Regions from separate parts of the Homo sapiens genome. Here region 2 is linked to region 1. The links are contacts of gene promoters, found by promoter capture Hi-C in blood cells and fetal thymus (Javierre and others, 2016). All regions are on one chromosome and are shown on one strand. Each heading gives the region's core, a stretch centred on a gene start or on the middle of the fragment in contact. The rest is flanking DNA. Distances are from core to core; before and after follow the strand shown.

The links. The method cuts DNA at HindIII sites, captures the fragments that hold promoters and counts their contacts. A CHiCAGO score of 5 or more calls a contact.
Region 2: the fragment with the promoter of FAM180A here is called in contact with the fragment with the promoter of AKR1B15 in region 1 in 4 of 17 cell types (naive CD8 T cells, total B cells, total CD8 T cells and 1 more); the score reaches 10.9 in naive CD8 T cells.

What each region holds. Positions count from the first base shown.
Region 1 is chr7:134,544,977-134,551,640 of GRCh38, forward strand. AKR1B15 (aldo-keto reductase family 1 member B15) reads left to right here and starts at 4,134. Exons shown (of 12, transcript NM_001080538.3): 1 at 4,134-4,273. LOC105375520 (a long non-coding RNA gene) reads right to left here. Exons shown (of 3, transcript XR_928005.3): 3 at 2,381-6,664. RefSeq lists an enhancer at 4,145-4,204. The HindIII fragment of the contact is 2,317 bases long and covers 3,244-5,560 here.
Region 2 is chr7:135,745,992-135,752,900 of GRCh38, forward strand. FAM180A (family with sequence similarity 180 member A) reads right to left here and starts at 2,822. Exons shown (of 4, transcript NM_205855.4): 1 at 2,514-2,822. The coding sequence starts at 2,589. RefSeq lists enhancers at 1-459, 6,908-6,909. The HindIII fragment of the contact is 5,471 bases long and covers 1-3,583 here.

The DNA of each region.
Region 1 (6,664 bases), core at 2,884-5,383:
AATGACATGAAAAATTGTACAGACTAGTAATAAAAATGCAAATTAAAATAAGCTTTATACACTATCAAACCAGCAAAACTTAGAAATAAAAGAAAATCTATCTAGAAAGATTTGAATATTAAGAGGGTTTTTTTCTATGTTGTTTGGCAACAAGTTTATTTTTGTTATTCTTTTACATAATTTTCAAAATTTCCACAATAGGAAATGAACTTTTACATTCTAGAGAGGCATTAAGGATTTAAAAAATAACAGATTTAGCTCAATTAGTTATTTTATACATCCACTGGGAAAACCAAATGAAAGAGACACTTTTACTTGAAATTATTCTCATTTAACAAGCCTTTCGATTTTAGAAAATACGTATTCTGAATGTACAATGCAGTGGAATTTGATTACATTTAATTTTAAATTCTACCTAATTCATTTGTTTTTCCTCATTTGTTGTCAGCATTTTCCCAGACATTTCATGAAAGTTTTGCACCCTTAAAATCTTACAGTGTTGCCTTCCAGCACTTTTGTTGGTTCAAAAATATCAGCCCCCAGATAAGTTAGGGAGAGTTGGTGAGGACCAAGAGGACCTTGACCGTTACTAAAAAATTACGCAAGAGAGGTACTTGTGCCTCAGGGCTCTTGCCCTTGGTATTCTCACTGCCTGGGATGCTCTGCCCTCAGATATTAGAATAATTCTCTGACTTGTATTTTTAATTTCCTTGCCGATTTATCGTCTTTTCAGAGAGGACTTTCTTCATCACCCTATTTAAAATTAACCTACCTCCTCTGATATTTCTTCTTGCCCTTCTAAGTGTTTTCTTCTTCTCCATAGCATTTGTTTATCAATATGTCATGTATTTTATATATTTGCTGTTTGCTTGCTTACCCTGTTTCTACCCACTAGCATGTAAGCTCTATGAGAGAAGGGATTTTTGAGTTCTGTTAATTATTGTATTCCCCGCCTCAATAATATCTGGTGAATAAATAGATAGATGGAATGGATGGAACAATGGATGGACGAATGGATGGGTGGAGGGACGGAGGCATGGATGGATGGTTGGAAACATGGAAAGAAGGAAGGATGGATAGAAAGACAAATGGAAGGAGGGATGGGTGGAAGGATACATGGATTGGGGATGGATGAATGATGGATGGATGGATGGATGGATGGATGGATGAATGATGGATGGATGGATGGATGGATGGATGTGTGGGATATGATGAGGTTTCTCTTCAGATAACCTGATCAATCTTTTATTCTTTAATTCATAGTAATCCCTCCACCTTTTTTCCTTTTTCTCCTTTTTTCTCTTTTTTCCTTTGTTACATGCCCAGGCATGCCACAGTACCAGGTGGTATCTGTACCTGCTCACATTCCTTTCCTTATTTGGAAAGAGGACTAACTTTTTAGCTCATTACAGACACCCCTTCCCCTTTATTCTCTGCCTTTTTTACGTGCCCACCTTATCTAAAAAAAATCCAATGTTTAGCCAACCAGGATTAGTTTAGATTGTACGACCTGACCCTGGCCAATGGAGAAAGGGTACAGGGGCAGTACTTGTGTCAGGAGTAAAGGCTCTCGTGCCCCTTTTTCAGGTGTGCTCTCATGGCGACTGGACAAGGAGGCACCTCTCTGCGCAGAAGTAAAATTGCTTTGCTAAGAATCCTTTGTTCAAGTGTTCAATTTCCTTAAGATTTTGAGCGTTATTCCTAACAGTTCTGGAGCCCAACTTTGGGGCTCGAATCTTCTCCTTTGGGAAGGGGGCCTTCGGTCACCCCACCCGGAGGGGACGCATCCTACTGTCTAGTTACCGTGCCCCTAGGTTGAGGGAGATCAGGGCCCCCCCCCCGCTTTGTGACAAATAAGTCTGGATCTCAGCAAAGCGGGGAGGAGAAGCTTGCAAGACCGCAACAATAAGAGGACCAGGAAATTCTTGTGCATGGAATAAGGTAGGAGACTTGGCGAAGGTGACAAAGTATTTCCCAGGTGGTTGGGATAAGCTGGAGGCTGACAGTGTATGAATGGGACTTAGTATGGTGGTTATGTGGAGTGAGTGAGTCTTCTCTATGGCCTCATGCTGCCATCTGTCAACTAGAGTCAGGAACAGACAGAGTAGACAAAGAGGAAGGGGGAGGGTAGAAATCCAAACAGGTTGGGTTGGAGCCTTTCCCCAAAGCCTCAGTAAGCCTCCAGGAAGGGGGAGGGTAGAAATCTCACAGGAGGGGTTGGGCCTCCTCCCCATAATCCCTAAGATGGGGAACGTTTCAAGTAAGACAGGAAAACTAAAGAGTCTAGAGAGTGATGAATTTCCTTCTGATAGCCCCTTGGGGCTTATGCTAAAGTATTGAAAAAATAATAAGAGAACCAAGTATAAACAAAAACAGCAGATGATAGAATATTGTTGTTTTATTTAAGTTCGAGAACCCATCCTTAAGCCCTCACTTTTCTGGCCAAAATTTAAGTCTAATGAAGAGCGAATTTGTCAGCTGTTAATCAAATATGTTAACAGTAAGAGCCCTGTGTCCCAGGAAAAATCGATTACGCCCTCTGCTGGCGGCAGGGACCAGTTCTCCTTTACCCTTTAGACTCTGGAGGGAGAAAATCAGAAACCAACCTTTCTAAAAAGGAAAGAGTTCCCATGCCTAGACAACCCATACCTACCAAGACATGGGATCCTCTAAATCACCTTCCTTCCTTCAGCGCCCCCAATCCTGCCCCTTTGGTTCCCCTCTCAGGTCCCTCCGGCTGTGGTTTCAGGTTACTCCCCAGCTGTTTCAGGCCACGCCCCAGCCTGTGCTGTCCCTTCAGCTGAGGTTTCAAGTTACTCCCCAGCCGCTTCAGGCCACAACCCACCAAGTTAAAACTATATTAAATCAAAACGCAAGGAGGGAGATTACCAACTCAAAAATTTTAAAATATGAGGCTATCTTTCTGGGAAAAAGGTGATTTAATATTAAGTACTAATAATTCACTTTATTCAGCAGGCTCTTTAACGGGGGATCCAAACGTAAAACGAGAGAGCACGCGTGTTTAAATCGAATTAATTACCATACGAAAGTTCAACCAGACTTAGGAAAAACTCCCTTCAAGACAGGGTGGCACTTATTCATAGATGGAACCTCCCAGGTGATTAAAAGAAAGAGACATAATAGGTATTCAGTGATTAATGGAAAGACTGTTAAAAAAGTAAAATCAGGAAGGGGGTCTAATAATTGGTCTGTCCAAGGGTGTGAACTGTTTGCACTCAGCCAAGCTTTAGGACATTTACAAAACCAAGAAAATCTATCTATACTGACTCTAAGTATCCCTCTGGGGAGGCACACACATTTGGGAAAATTTGGATGGAGAGGGCTCTTATCAATAGTAGAGGCCAAGATTTAGTTCATAGAGAACTGATGCTCGTGTCCTCAACAATCTCCAATTGCCAGAAGAGATAGCTATTGTACATGTCCCAGGGCACCAAAACGACTCGCCTTTCACAAGTCCAGGAAATAATCTTGCAGATCAAATTGTGATACCCTATCTTGTTTTATCCTGATTGACTCTTTCTTAGCTGAGAGAGTCAATAGCTTGGGAGACTCAATTGAGAGTCAATATCGAGAGAGTCAATAGCTGAGAGAGTCTTAGCTTGGTTTCTTCGCTTGCAGCCCCTTGTCCCCCTCCTTAAGGACATAACTGGTGCAAGCTGACTCCAAGCACATCCAAGAATGCGCTTATTGATAAGATACTGAGGCAAGCTGTACCAGCAGCTCCTGGGAGCACACTTGGTTGGTGGTATCCAAAGCCCCTGCTTTTATCACTTTGGGATACTTTAAGCCCCTGCACCTGGAACTGTTTATTTTCCTGTAACTGTTTCTGTAACCATTTATCTTTTAATTTTTTCCTGTTCTGCTTCTGTAAAAAATTGCTTCAGCTAGACTCCCCCTCCCCTCTTTAGGCCAAGGTATAAAAAGAACTCTAGCCTCTTCTTCCGGACCGAGAGAATTTCAAGCTCTAGCTCTTTCTCAGTCGCCAGCAATAAAGGACTCCTGAATTAGTCTCAGAGTGTGGCATTCTCTCTATGACTTGCTCGGTTACGACATTTGGAAGCCCCAGAGAGATTCGCCACCGGGTGAAGACCTGACTCATTCCGGGCTTCCCCAGACAGACAGCTGGCTTACAGGGCCACCTGAAGACGTTCCAGGGCTCCACAGGCCACTGTCTTCTGGAGGGGAACGGATCGACTGCCGGTGCGCCCAGCCAAATTCAACTCCTGAGTCCTCAGTCTCTAGTCCCGGGAAGGTAAGTCAGATCTGACTCTGTCTCTCTGGGAGGGAAACGGCCCTGACGAAGGTCCTCCCTCAGACTCTGTCCATGCTCCAGGACACTGGAGGACAGAGTCCTGGTTTCTGTCAGGATTCTCTGTTAAGTCTAGTCTCTCTCTCTCTCTATCTCTTCTCCCTCTCTCATTCAGGTCTCCGGGAGATCTCTGTTTTAGAATGGGTATAAAAATTGTAATAAACTCTGAGTGAGTGAGTGAGTGAGTGAATGTGGAGTTCAAGGGCTTGCGCTTGAATTTCCAGTTTGTAGCTCCAGGGTGAAAGCTAGGGAATTCGAGAAGGCCCTCACCTGTGGTTCCGTGGTGACCTCATAAGGCTTAGGGCGGCATCAGGCATAGCTCGATCCAAGCCAGGGGTTTATACCAGCCTGCCAATGCCAAGAGGAGCCTAAGTCCCCGAAAGGGGAGCAGCCAGGAGGGCATCTGACTGATCCCATCACGGGACCCCCTCCCCTTGTCTGTCTATAAAAATTGCCATGCTTGTTTATATACCCCAGTGCCTATTGTCCTGTTTAGTGTCTGTCTAAATTTCATATGTCGGATCGTCGATACTGCCCAAAATGACTGGGCAAGGACTTCTTCAAGGTCCTTAGTACAGATTTTCTATCCCAGGAGGTCAAATTCCTCATTAGTCGGTTGGGCTGGCCATCCCAGTCCTGCCTTTCCTGTCAGAAACAAATTAGGTGTTGTTATGGGGAAGGGTGTGGAAGACATTCACCCGTTTAGGATTTCTGGCACCATAAAGATTGCTGGCGTTTGGATTGCCATACCCCACGCCCCAACGACTGGTCCACCTTCTCCTTAGACCAGTGGTGGATCCAAAATAGCCACCCTGCTGACCTCCTTACTCACCTTTTCTGTCATCCCATAACTTTTCCCATGCCCTTAAATAAGGCACTGTGCAGAGAAACCTACACCCATACTGCTCTACTCTGTCTGGACTCTTATTTTACCTCTTTTGGCTACTCTCCAACCTTTAGGGAAATCCAAGTGGCCCCTTTCCTCCTCATCCCCATCCCTTACCCTGCACATCTCATTTTCCTGTGTTGCAGCAAGTCCAGCGTCTCTAAGACTTGGCTGTGTTCTCCCTCCTTAAACCCGTGAAGGAAAGGACCGAGTTTGAACATTTTGCTTTCGAGTCGTGGAGACACCAAAGTTATTTGGGATATAAGTCAAGAAGGGGGGGTCACCTAAGTCCCACTGGCTGAGGATCCCTTGGACCCACCTCTTATCCTCTCCATAGATCTCGAAGCTTGAGGAGACAGACCTTATGTGGCAAGAAATATTGGCTATAGTTGTTTTCCTACTTCTTCTAGCTATAATACTTCTGTTCTTCTGATACCATAGCCTCCCAGGCCGTGAATATCTTTGTCCATGCTGGGTTTAATATTTTTGTTCAAACCTTGTTAATTGCCTCCAGAATAGTAAACTCTTCTTCCCGGCCCCATAAAGATTGGAGTCCTCTCCAGTGTATGTTGCAGAATTTCTCTCTAGGCTTCTCAGATGATTACGGGGTCCGCCTTAAAAAAGGCAAACTCTGGACACTCTGCGAAGTAGAATGGCCAAAGTTTGGAACTGGGTGGCCCCCAGACGGGTCACTACACTTCACAGCTGTTCAGGCTGTGTGGTGGGTCGTTGTTGGAACTCCCGGTCACCCCGATCAGTTTCCCTACATTGATCAATGGCTAGATTTAGTCCAGAGCTCTCCTTCATGGCTCCACTCGTGATAAAACTCTGTAGCCATTCGTGATCCTACCTCCAAGGTCCTTTTTAGCCAGACCTCACTTTTGCCTCCACCCTCAGCTCCCTCGATTCCTCCTGTACTGCCTCCTTCTGAAGAAGAGGAAAGTTTTCTTCACCCATTTCCACCACCCTATAACCCTCCTCCTCCCCCAGAATCTTCCCTTGTCTCCTCAACTACATCCTCTGTGGCCTCTCTGCCTATATCCTCCCAATTATGGCCTCAGCCGGAGGAGGTGGCCCCGCTCCTCCCACTGACAGAGGCCCAAATCCCTTTGGGCAGTGGGCGTTGTGCTCCATTTTTAGTTTATGTCCCCTTCTCTACTTCTGACCTGTACAACTGGAAGGCTCATAATCCCCCCTTTTCTGAAAAGCCCCAGGTCTTAACCTCACTGATGGAGTCTGTGCTCCAGACTCACCGGCCCACCTGGGATGAGTGTCAGCAACTCCTTTCATCCCTTTTCACCTCTGAAGAGAGGGACCATATCTGAAGAGAAGCCAGAAAGTATTTCCTTACATCAGCCAGCTTTTAGAGATAGCCCAGAGAGTTTTCGACAATCGAGAATTTGAAAAGCAAAAACAGGTAGCTCAGGCAGCTGAAAGGGCTGCAGACA
Region 2 (6,909 bases), core at 1,572-4,071, 1.2 Mb after region 1:
TATAATTAGAAAAAAATGTTAAAAATGAAAAAAAAATCAACTACGCGGAAGACATTTGATGATGGTTGGAGGGACTCTGTATCATTTGTTGACTCAGCGCTGACTTGAGCCATTAATCTAGCACGTCACATCCGCTGCCTCATAGTGACCTCGGTTTGGCTGGCTTTGAGTCAGTGGATTGTGAACTCACTGTGGAAAGACCTTCCCCAATGCGGAAGGACATGGCCCGGAGAAGTTGCTCCCAGAATGTTGCTGTAGATTCCCCTGTTAAGAGCCTTAAACTTCCTTTAATGAAAAATTTTTATTTTTCAAAAACTGGTAGGCAATAGCTAATATTTATATTGTGCTTTGTCATTTACAAAGTATTTTCATCTATATTTTTGAATATGACCCTCACAGTAATAGCATGAGGGTTTTATTGATGTGATGGATGTTAATGTCACCCGTTAGTGAACTAAAGCTCAGAGAGGTTAAGAGACTTGTCTGAGATCACATTGCCAAATAGAGATGGAACTTAAACCAGGACCCTTGCAGAGTAGCTCATGATGTGGCTATCGTGTTTACAAACCATATTGCAAGTCAAATAATCCCTTTTGGCTTTGTAATAGCCTGTGCCTTAGGAAGAGTGGGCACTGTTACCCTGTTTAATAAGCAAATCCCCAGTGTGACAAAGAGGGGAGTGACAGAACCCAACTCCAAGATCTCTTTGCTTTTTACTTCCAAGTGCTACCTCAAAGTTTGTGCACACAATGAAAAGGGAGGTGTGAAAACAGGGTGACTACAGTCAATAACAATTTAATTGTACATTTAAAAAGAACTAAAAGAGGGCCAGGCACTATGGCTCATGCCTATAATCCCAGAACTTTGGGAGGCTGAGGTGGGCAGATCACTTGAGGTCAGGAGTTTGAGAGCAGCCTGGCCAACATGGTGAAACCCCATCTCTACTAAAAATACAAAAATTAGCCAGGCGTGGTGGTGCGCACCTGTAACTCCAGCTACTCAGGAGACTGAGGCACGAGAATCGCTTGAACCTGGGAGGCGGAGGTTGCAGTGAACCAAGATTGCACCCCTGCATTCCAGCCTGGGCAACAGAGTGAGACTCCGTCTCAAAAATAAATAAATAAGTAAATAAATAACAAATAAAAGTAACTAAAAGGGTATCACTGGATTGTTTGTAACACAAAGGCTAAATGCTTGAGGGGATGGATACCCCATCTTCCATGATGTGACGTGCCTGTATCAAAACATCTCATAGGCCCCATAAATATGTATACCTACTATGTGCCCACAGAAATTAAAAATTAAAAATTAAAAAAAGAAAAGGGAGGGGTGTACGTGTGTATGTGCATGTGTATGCAAGGTTGTTATGAGAAAAATGAAGAATGCTGTATTATTTGTTTCTGGGCAACGATCACTTCACAGCTCAGCTCAAAAGACTTATATCCCTGTTAGAGATGTAAGTCCCTAATGTCACGTTTAACCATGAGGAAATAAAACCCAGCATAAGTACAGTAGCTTTTGCCTCCCTCCCATTTCAGATCCTTCTCTCGCGCTGCTCTATCCCCACTCCGGCCACTCCTTCCTTCCCTGACACTGTCCTTGAGAAGCAAGCAGGAGGCGCATCCATGCCACCATGCCAGTTGCCTTCCAATTTTGCATCTCTAGAAACACCTACTGGCCTGACTTGAAGGAGCCTGTTCTTCTTGCGGTTCTTTCTAGGAGAGTGAACTCAGTTGACTTTAGGCAGTGGAAAGATTTCCGTTCATATTGGTGAAGAGTGGGCAGTGCCGTGGGTCCCTCCTTTCCTAACAGTGATAAACTCTGGCTCGAGGTGCTCCCAGTGTCTACCAAGCAGAGCCACTCCCAGGGAAATGGAGAAAAGATGCCATCCAGCTAGGAGGAACTACATCCTGAGGGGGAGGAAGTCAGTGATAAGAGAACAGCCTTTGCTGGGGCCCCTTCCTTTGTGAGGAGGTGGCGGAGCTGGTGGGTGCAGTGGAGGTTGAAGGGTTGCTCTCCTCACCTGCCCACCTCTGGCTGCAGAGATGCATCCCCTCCCGGTGAGGAGGCAACGTTCTGCAGAGCTTCTGCTCTGGTTCCCCCAGGGAGCAGGCCTTTGGCATCCCAGTGCCCATCACTCCATCATTTTAGCAGCAGGTCTCAGCACCTGCTCTCCAGACGGTCTGGCCCAACTGCTGCAGGTGGTGGGGGCAGTCGAAGAAATGAGTTCTACTTTCTATGAAGCAGAAATGAGTTCTCTCTGGGATGCCAGAAAGGGGTACTCTCTGGGTTCTCCACCTCAACCTAATTCCCTCAGGAGCTTTGATTTTTTCCAGTGTCATTTCCCCATCACCCTCTAAGAAGGGGGAACACGTCAAGAAGCATCAAGGAATTGACAGAGATTAGACAAAAGGAGAGTGCGGGGCTTCTAATGTCCTTCCCTCCAAATTTTGAATTGCATTGAAGAAAGTATAATGAGCATCAAACAAACAAATGAATAAAAAGCAACTCACCCCTGCTCCACCTGTGGCACATAGAAGCCTCAGCATTGTAATACAACAGCAGAAGCAGCAACATCTTCCAATGCATCTTGTCCTTCAAAAGGTGAAAAATCGACCCTCAAGCCCAGTGGAACCCCAGTAGCTGCAGGTATGCCCGTGCCGTTCTTCCCAGTGAGATGATGGAGTGCTTCCCTCCCTTCCTTTTGCAGACGTGCAGAAATGCCTACTCTGCCTCAGAAGGCTGGAGGCTGAAGGCTGCGTCCTGGGTGGGACAGGAGTCGGTACCTCTCTTCATTTGACGCTCTCTGGGATTGGGGAACTGGCCTTCCACAGAGAGACTCTGTTTTTGAGCACATCTGGAGTGACTCACGGGGCATGTGATCTCCTTGGCAGTGGGGCGGATAAATATAATTTCTGTACTTGAGTTCCATGTGTTGGATGCACCCACTGGAATTTTTCTTTAACAAACAGACCCGCGGAACTTGTTAGAGAGCCCGGCGAAGAGTTGGCTGCTCTCCCCGTCCACACATACGATACCAGAGCCAGGGGCGAGGGCTGGAGGCAGAGTTGGGAGCCTGCCTGGCAGACACCAGGGCTGGTTGAGCCTAAGTTGCCTTCAGGACAGCAAAATCATTGTGGTGCCTGGGCTGAGTGTCACTGTTGCCTGGCCCTGGAGCTAGACTAGGACATTGGCGCCTAGAGCCTGTGTCTGGTCTGCCCAGGTTCTGGGTGGGTGGGGAGTTGGCAGGTTGTGACCGAGCCGAAGTGGAGAGGTGACATGGTGCATCGGTATTGTCTGTGTGAACGTGCGTAGGTAATGATCCAGGAGCCCACGGGGACCCCCAACTCACATTGGTGATGCTCCCATTTCTGGGCTGTGCCTAGACCTGGGGCCAAGCCCCACAACTCACATTGGTGATGCTCCCATTTCTGGGCTGTGCCTAGACCTGGGGCCAAGCCACTTTGATTTTCCCAAGCAAAATGGGAGTGTTTTTCCATAGTCGTTGTAATATACTGCCATAGACACCTTAATTCTTTCCCAATCACTTCCTCAACTTCTCTGAAATGATAGGGAATGCTAAAGCTTGAAGGACACTTAAAGATTATGTCATCCTGTGGGTTTTCCAGTTTGTGGAGGTGGTGCCCAGGGTGAATGGGCTCCCCAAGAGGGCTCCTCAAAGCTCTACTCTACTGCAAAAGCTCCTCTTTTATCTGCTATAAGAAGTTGTTTGGGAGCCGGGCATGGTGGTTCACGCCTGTAATCCCAACACTTTGGGAGGCCGAAGTGGGGGAATTGCTTGAGGCCAGAAGTTCAAGACCAACCTAGAGAAAATAGACCCTGTCTCTACAAAAAATTAAAAAATTAGCTGGGCGTGGTGGCATGTGCCTGTAGTCCTAGTCACTCAGGTGGCTGAGGCAGAAGGATTGTTTAGGCCCAGGAGTTCAAGGCTGCAGTGAGCTATGATCACAACACTCTACTCCAGCCTGGGTGACAGAGTAAGAACTTTCCTCTTAAAAAAATTAAAAAAAAAACAACCAGTTTTTTTGGGGGAAAAAATACTAGACTACAACATTTGAAAACCAGTACGCTCACTAATATTAATAATAGCTATTAGGTGCTTAATTTGCTTCAGACAGCGTGCTAGGTGCCCTCCTTGCATTAACTGATTTAATGCATCCACCGAACTAGGAGGTTAGGGCACTAGCCAGCAGCACTCTCCAACAGAAATGTAACGTGAATCACAAACGTCACTTAACATTTTCTACAACTCATACTAAAAAAAAGTAAAAAGAGGCTGGGTGCAGTGGCTCACGCCTGTAATCCTAGCACTTTGGGAGGCCGAGGCAGGCGGATCACCTGAGGTCAGGAGTTCGTGACCAGCCTGGCCAACATGGCAAAACCTCGTCTCTCCTAAAAATACAAAAATTAGCCGGGCATGGTGGTGCACACCTGTAATCCCAGCTACTCGAGAGGCTGAGGCAGGAGAGTCTCTTGAGCCTGCGAGGTGAAGGTTGTGGTGAGGCGAGATGGTGCCACTGCACTCTAGCCTGGGCAACACGAGTGAAACTCCATCTCAAAAAAATAAAAAATAGAAAAAGTAAAAAGAAACAAGTGCAATGAATAGTAATAATATCTTTCATTTAATTCAATATATCCAAGATATTATCATTTCTACAAGTAAGTGATATAGTATTAGCAAGATATTTTATATATATATATATAATATTTACATGAGGTCTTTGAAATCTAATGTGTATTTCACACTTATAGCACTTCTCAAGTCACACCAGCCCTGTTTCAAGTACCTGATAGCTCCATGCAGCCAGTGGCTCCTGTATCGGGCAGTGCAGAGCTAGAAGGTGAGAGGGCAGGCTCTGGGGCAAGATGCCTGTCTTTGTATCCCAGCTGTGCCACTGACTAGCTGTGTGATATTGGTGGAGTTCCCTCATCTCTCTTGGGCTTGATTTTCTTCATCTATAGAATGGGGACAATAATAATTTCCTCTCATAGGGTTGTTTCAAGGAATCAATGCATTTTTTTTTAAGATAAAACATTTTGCTTTATTTTTCATTTGCCACATGCATATCTTGACTGTTTACACAGTTATCATTCAATGTAGATACACAATTAATTGCTAAGAGAGAAATTAAATGCATTGCTGATGAATTTATTTTATTTACTTCATTCCAATAAGAAAAGCCACCATTCTTGAGGGGCTCACGGTTCTTTTCCATTTTCCTAACCCTTGAGTATACAGGGAGTAATCATACCTACACTGTCTCTGTTTCAAAAGGTGGTCGTAGATCTCAGCCAGGTAAAAATTTGAGATTTGACAATATTCCAAGTGTAAAGGGTTTTGATTTGGAAATAGGTTCTGTATTAAAAATGGCATAAATGATTATTTTTCTTCTTTATGCTGCAGCACTTTAACTTGTAATTTCTTTTTTTTTTAATTATTATACTTTAAGTTTTAGGGTACACGTTCACAATGTGCAGGTTAGTTACATATGTATACATGTGCCATGCTGGTGCGCTGCACCCACTAACTCGTATCAATGCATTAATACGTATAAATGTTGAGAATAATATCCGGTACATAGTAAGCATTGAATATATGTGAGCTCTATACACATGAAGAAACAGGCTCAGAGAAATCTATGTGATTTCAGAGCCCGCATGCAAAACCACTCCCCTCGCTTGCCTTAAAGCCTTATATTTTAGGAACTCCTTATTGGAGTGCTGGTAAACCAGTTCTAGAGGGGTGGGGAGAAACTTTCATTTGTAGTGCCTGCCAATTCCCCTGGTGAAAATACTCATGGCTGATTTCAAGCTACTGATACTTTAACAAGTGGCTTGCAAAGTTTCTGAAATATTAACAATCGGCTCTCAGGAAGTCCGTAAGAGCTGGCTCCAACACACAATGGCCTCTACTCATCAGATTAGTCTTACTGGCTCTAACTATCTTTGCTTCTGGTGTAATGTTTTCTTTTTGTACTTTGTAAATCTGCAAGGATTGCCCAAAGGACCTAGCACGGGGTAGCAAGCACCCTGCAGTTGCCCATTGAATACTTGTTGATTGATGCTGAAGCCAAGAAGACTCAGGCCTCCCTGCTGTCCTGCCGACACTCTTGTGAGTGAGGACGATGGACGTGGCTTGCCAGGCCATGGGGAATCCAGGACCAGAAATCACCATTTTGGCCTCCAGTCCCAGACTTTTCGAATCTGTAGGCTCAAATCTCCAAATTGTCACCTGCTAATTACTAAACTGGGGTGAGGATTAGCTTTTGGACTTGGGCTGGGAATGAATGTGTTTGTAACTAATTTCATTTCCTAAGATGATGAGTCAGGCCTTCTCTCTCACCACTACACCTTGGCACCAGGAGGCGAACATCTACAGCTTCTCAAGGGGCCTGATTGAAGTCTCGGGAAGGCCTGGCCTAGTATACAGTACTGATTTTTTTCTCTCCCCATGTTTTCCTTGTTCCCGCTACGATCCTGAGTGCACTGGTTGAGACTGGTAAGGAAATGAATAACACTGCCTTTTGTAGCAGAGCACAGTAAAATCATGACAGTGGAGCTTCTGAGAGCTATTGATTATGTAAGGAATACTTTAGGGGGAGGTGTTCTACTGAAGGCAATAGTTGTCCAATACATCTTCACTCTGAACTCCCACTACGCCTACCTGTATTTCTGTTTTTTTTGAGACAGAGTCTCACTCTGTCATCCAGGCTGGAGTGCAGTGGTGCGATCTCTGCTCACTGCAAGCTCTGCCTCCTGGGTTCACGCCATTCTCCTGCCTCAGCCTCCTAAGTAGCTGGGACTACAGGCACCCGCCACCCCGCCTGGCTAATTTTTTTTGGTATTTTTTAGTAGAGACGGGGTTTCACCTTGTTAGCCAGGATGGTC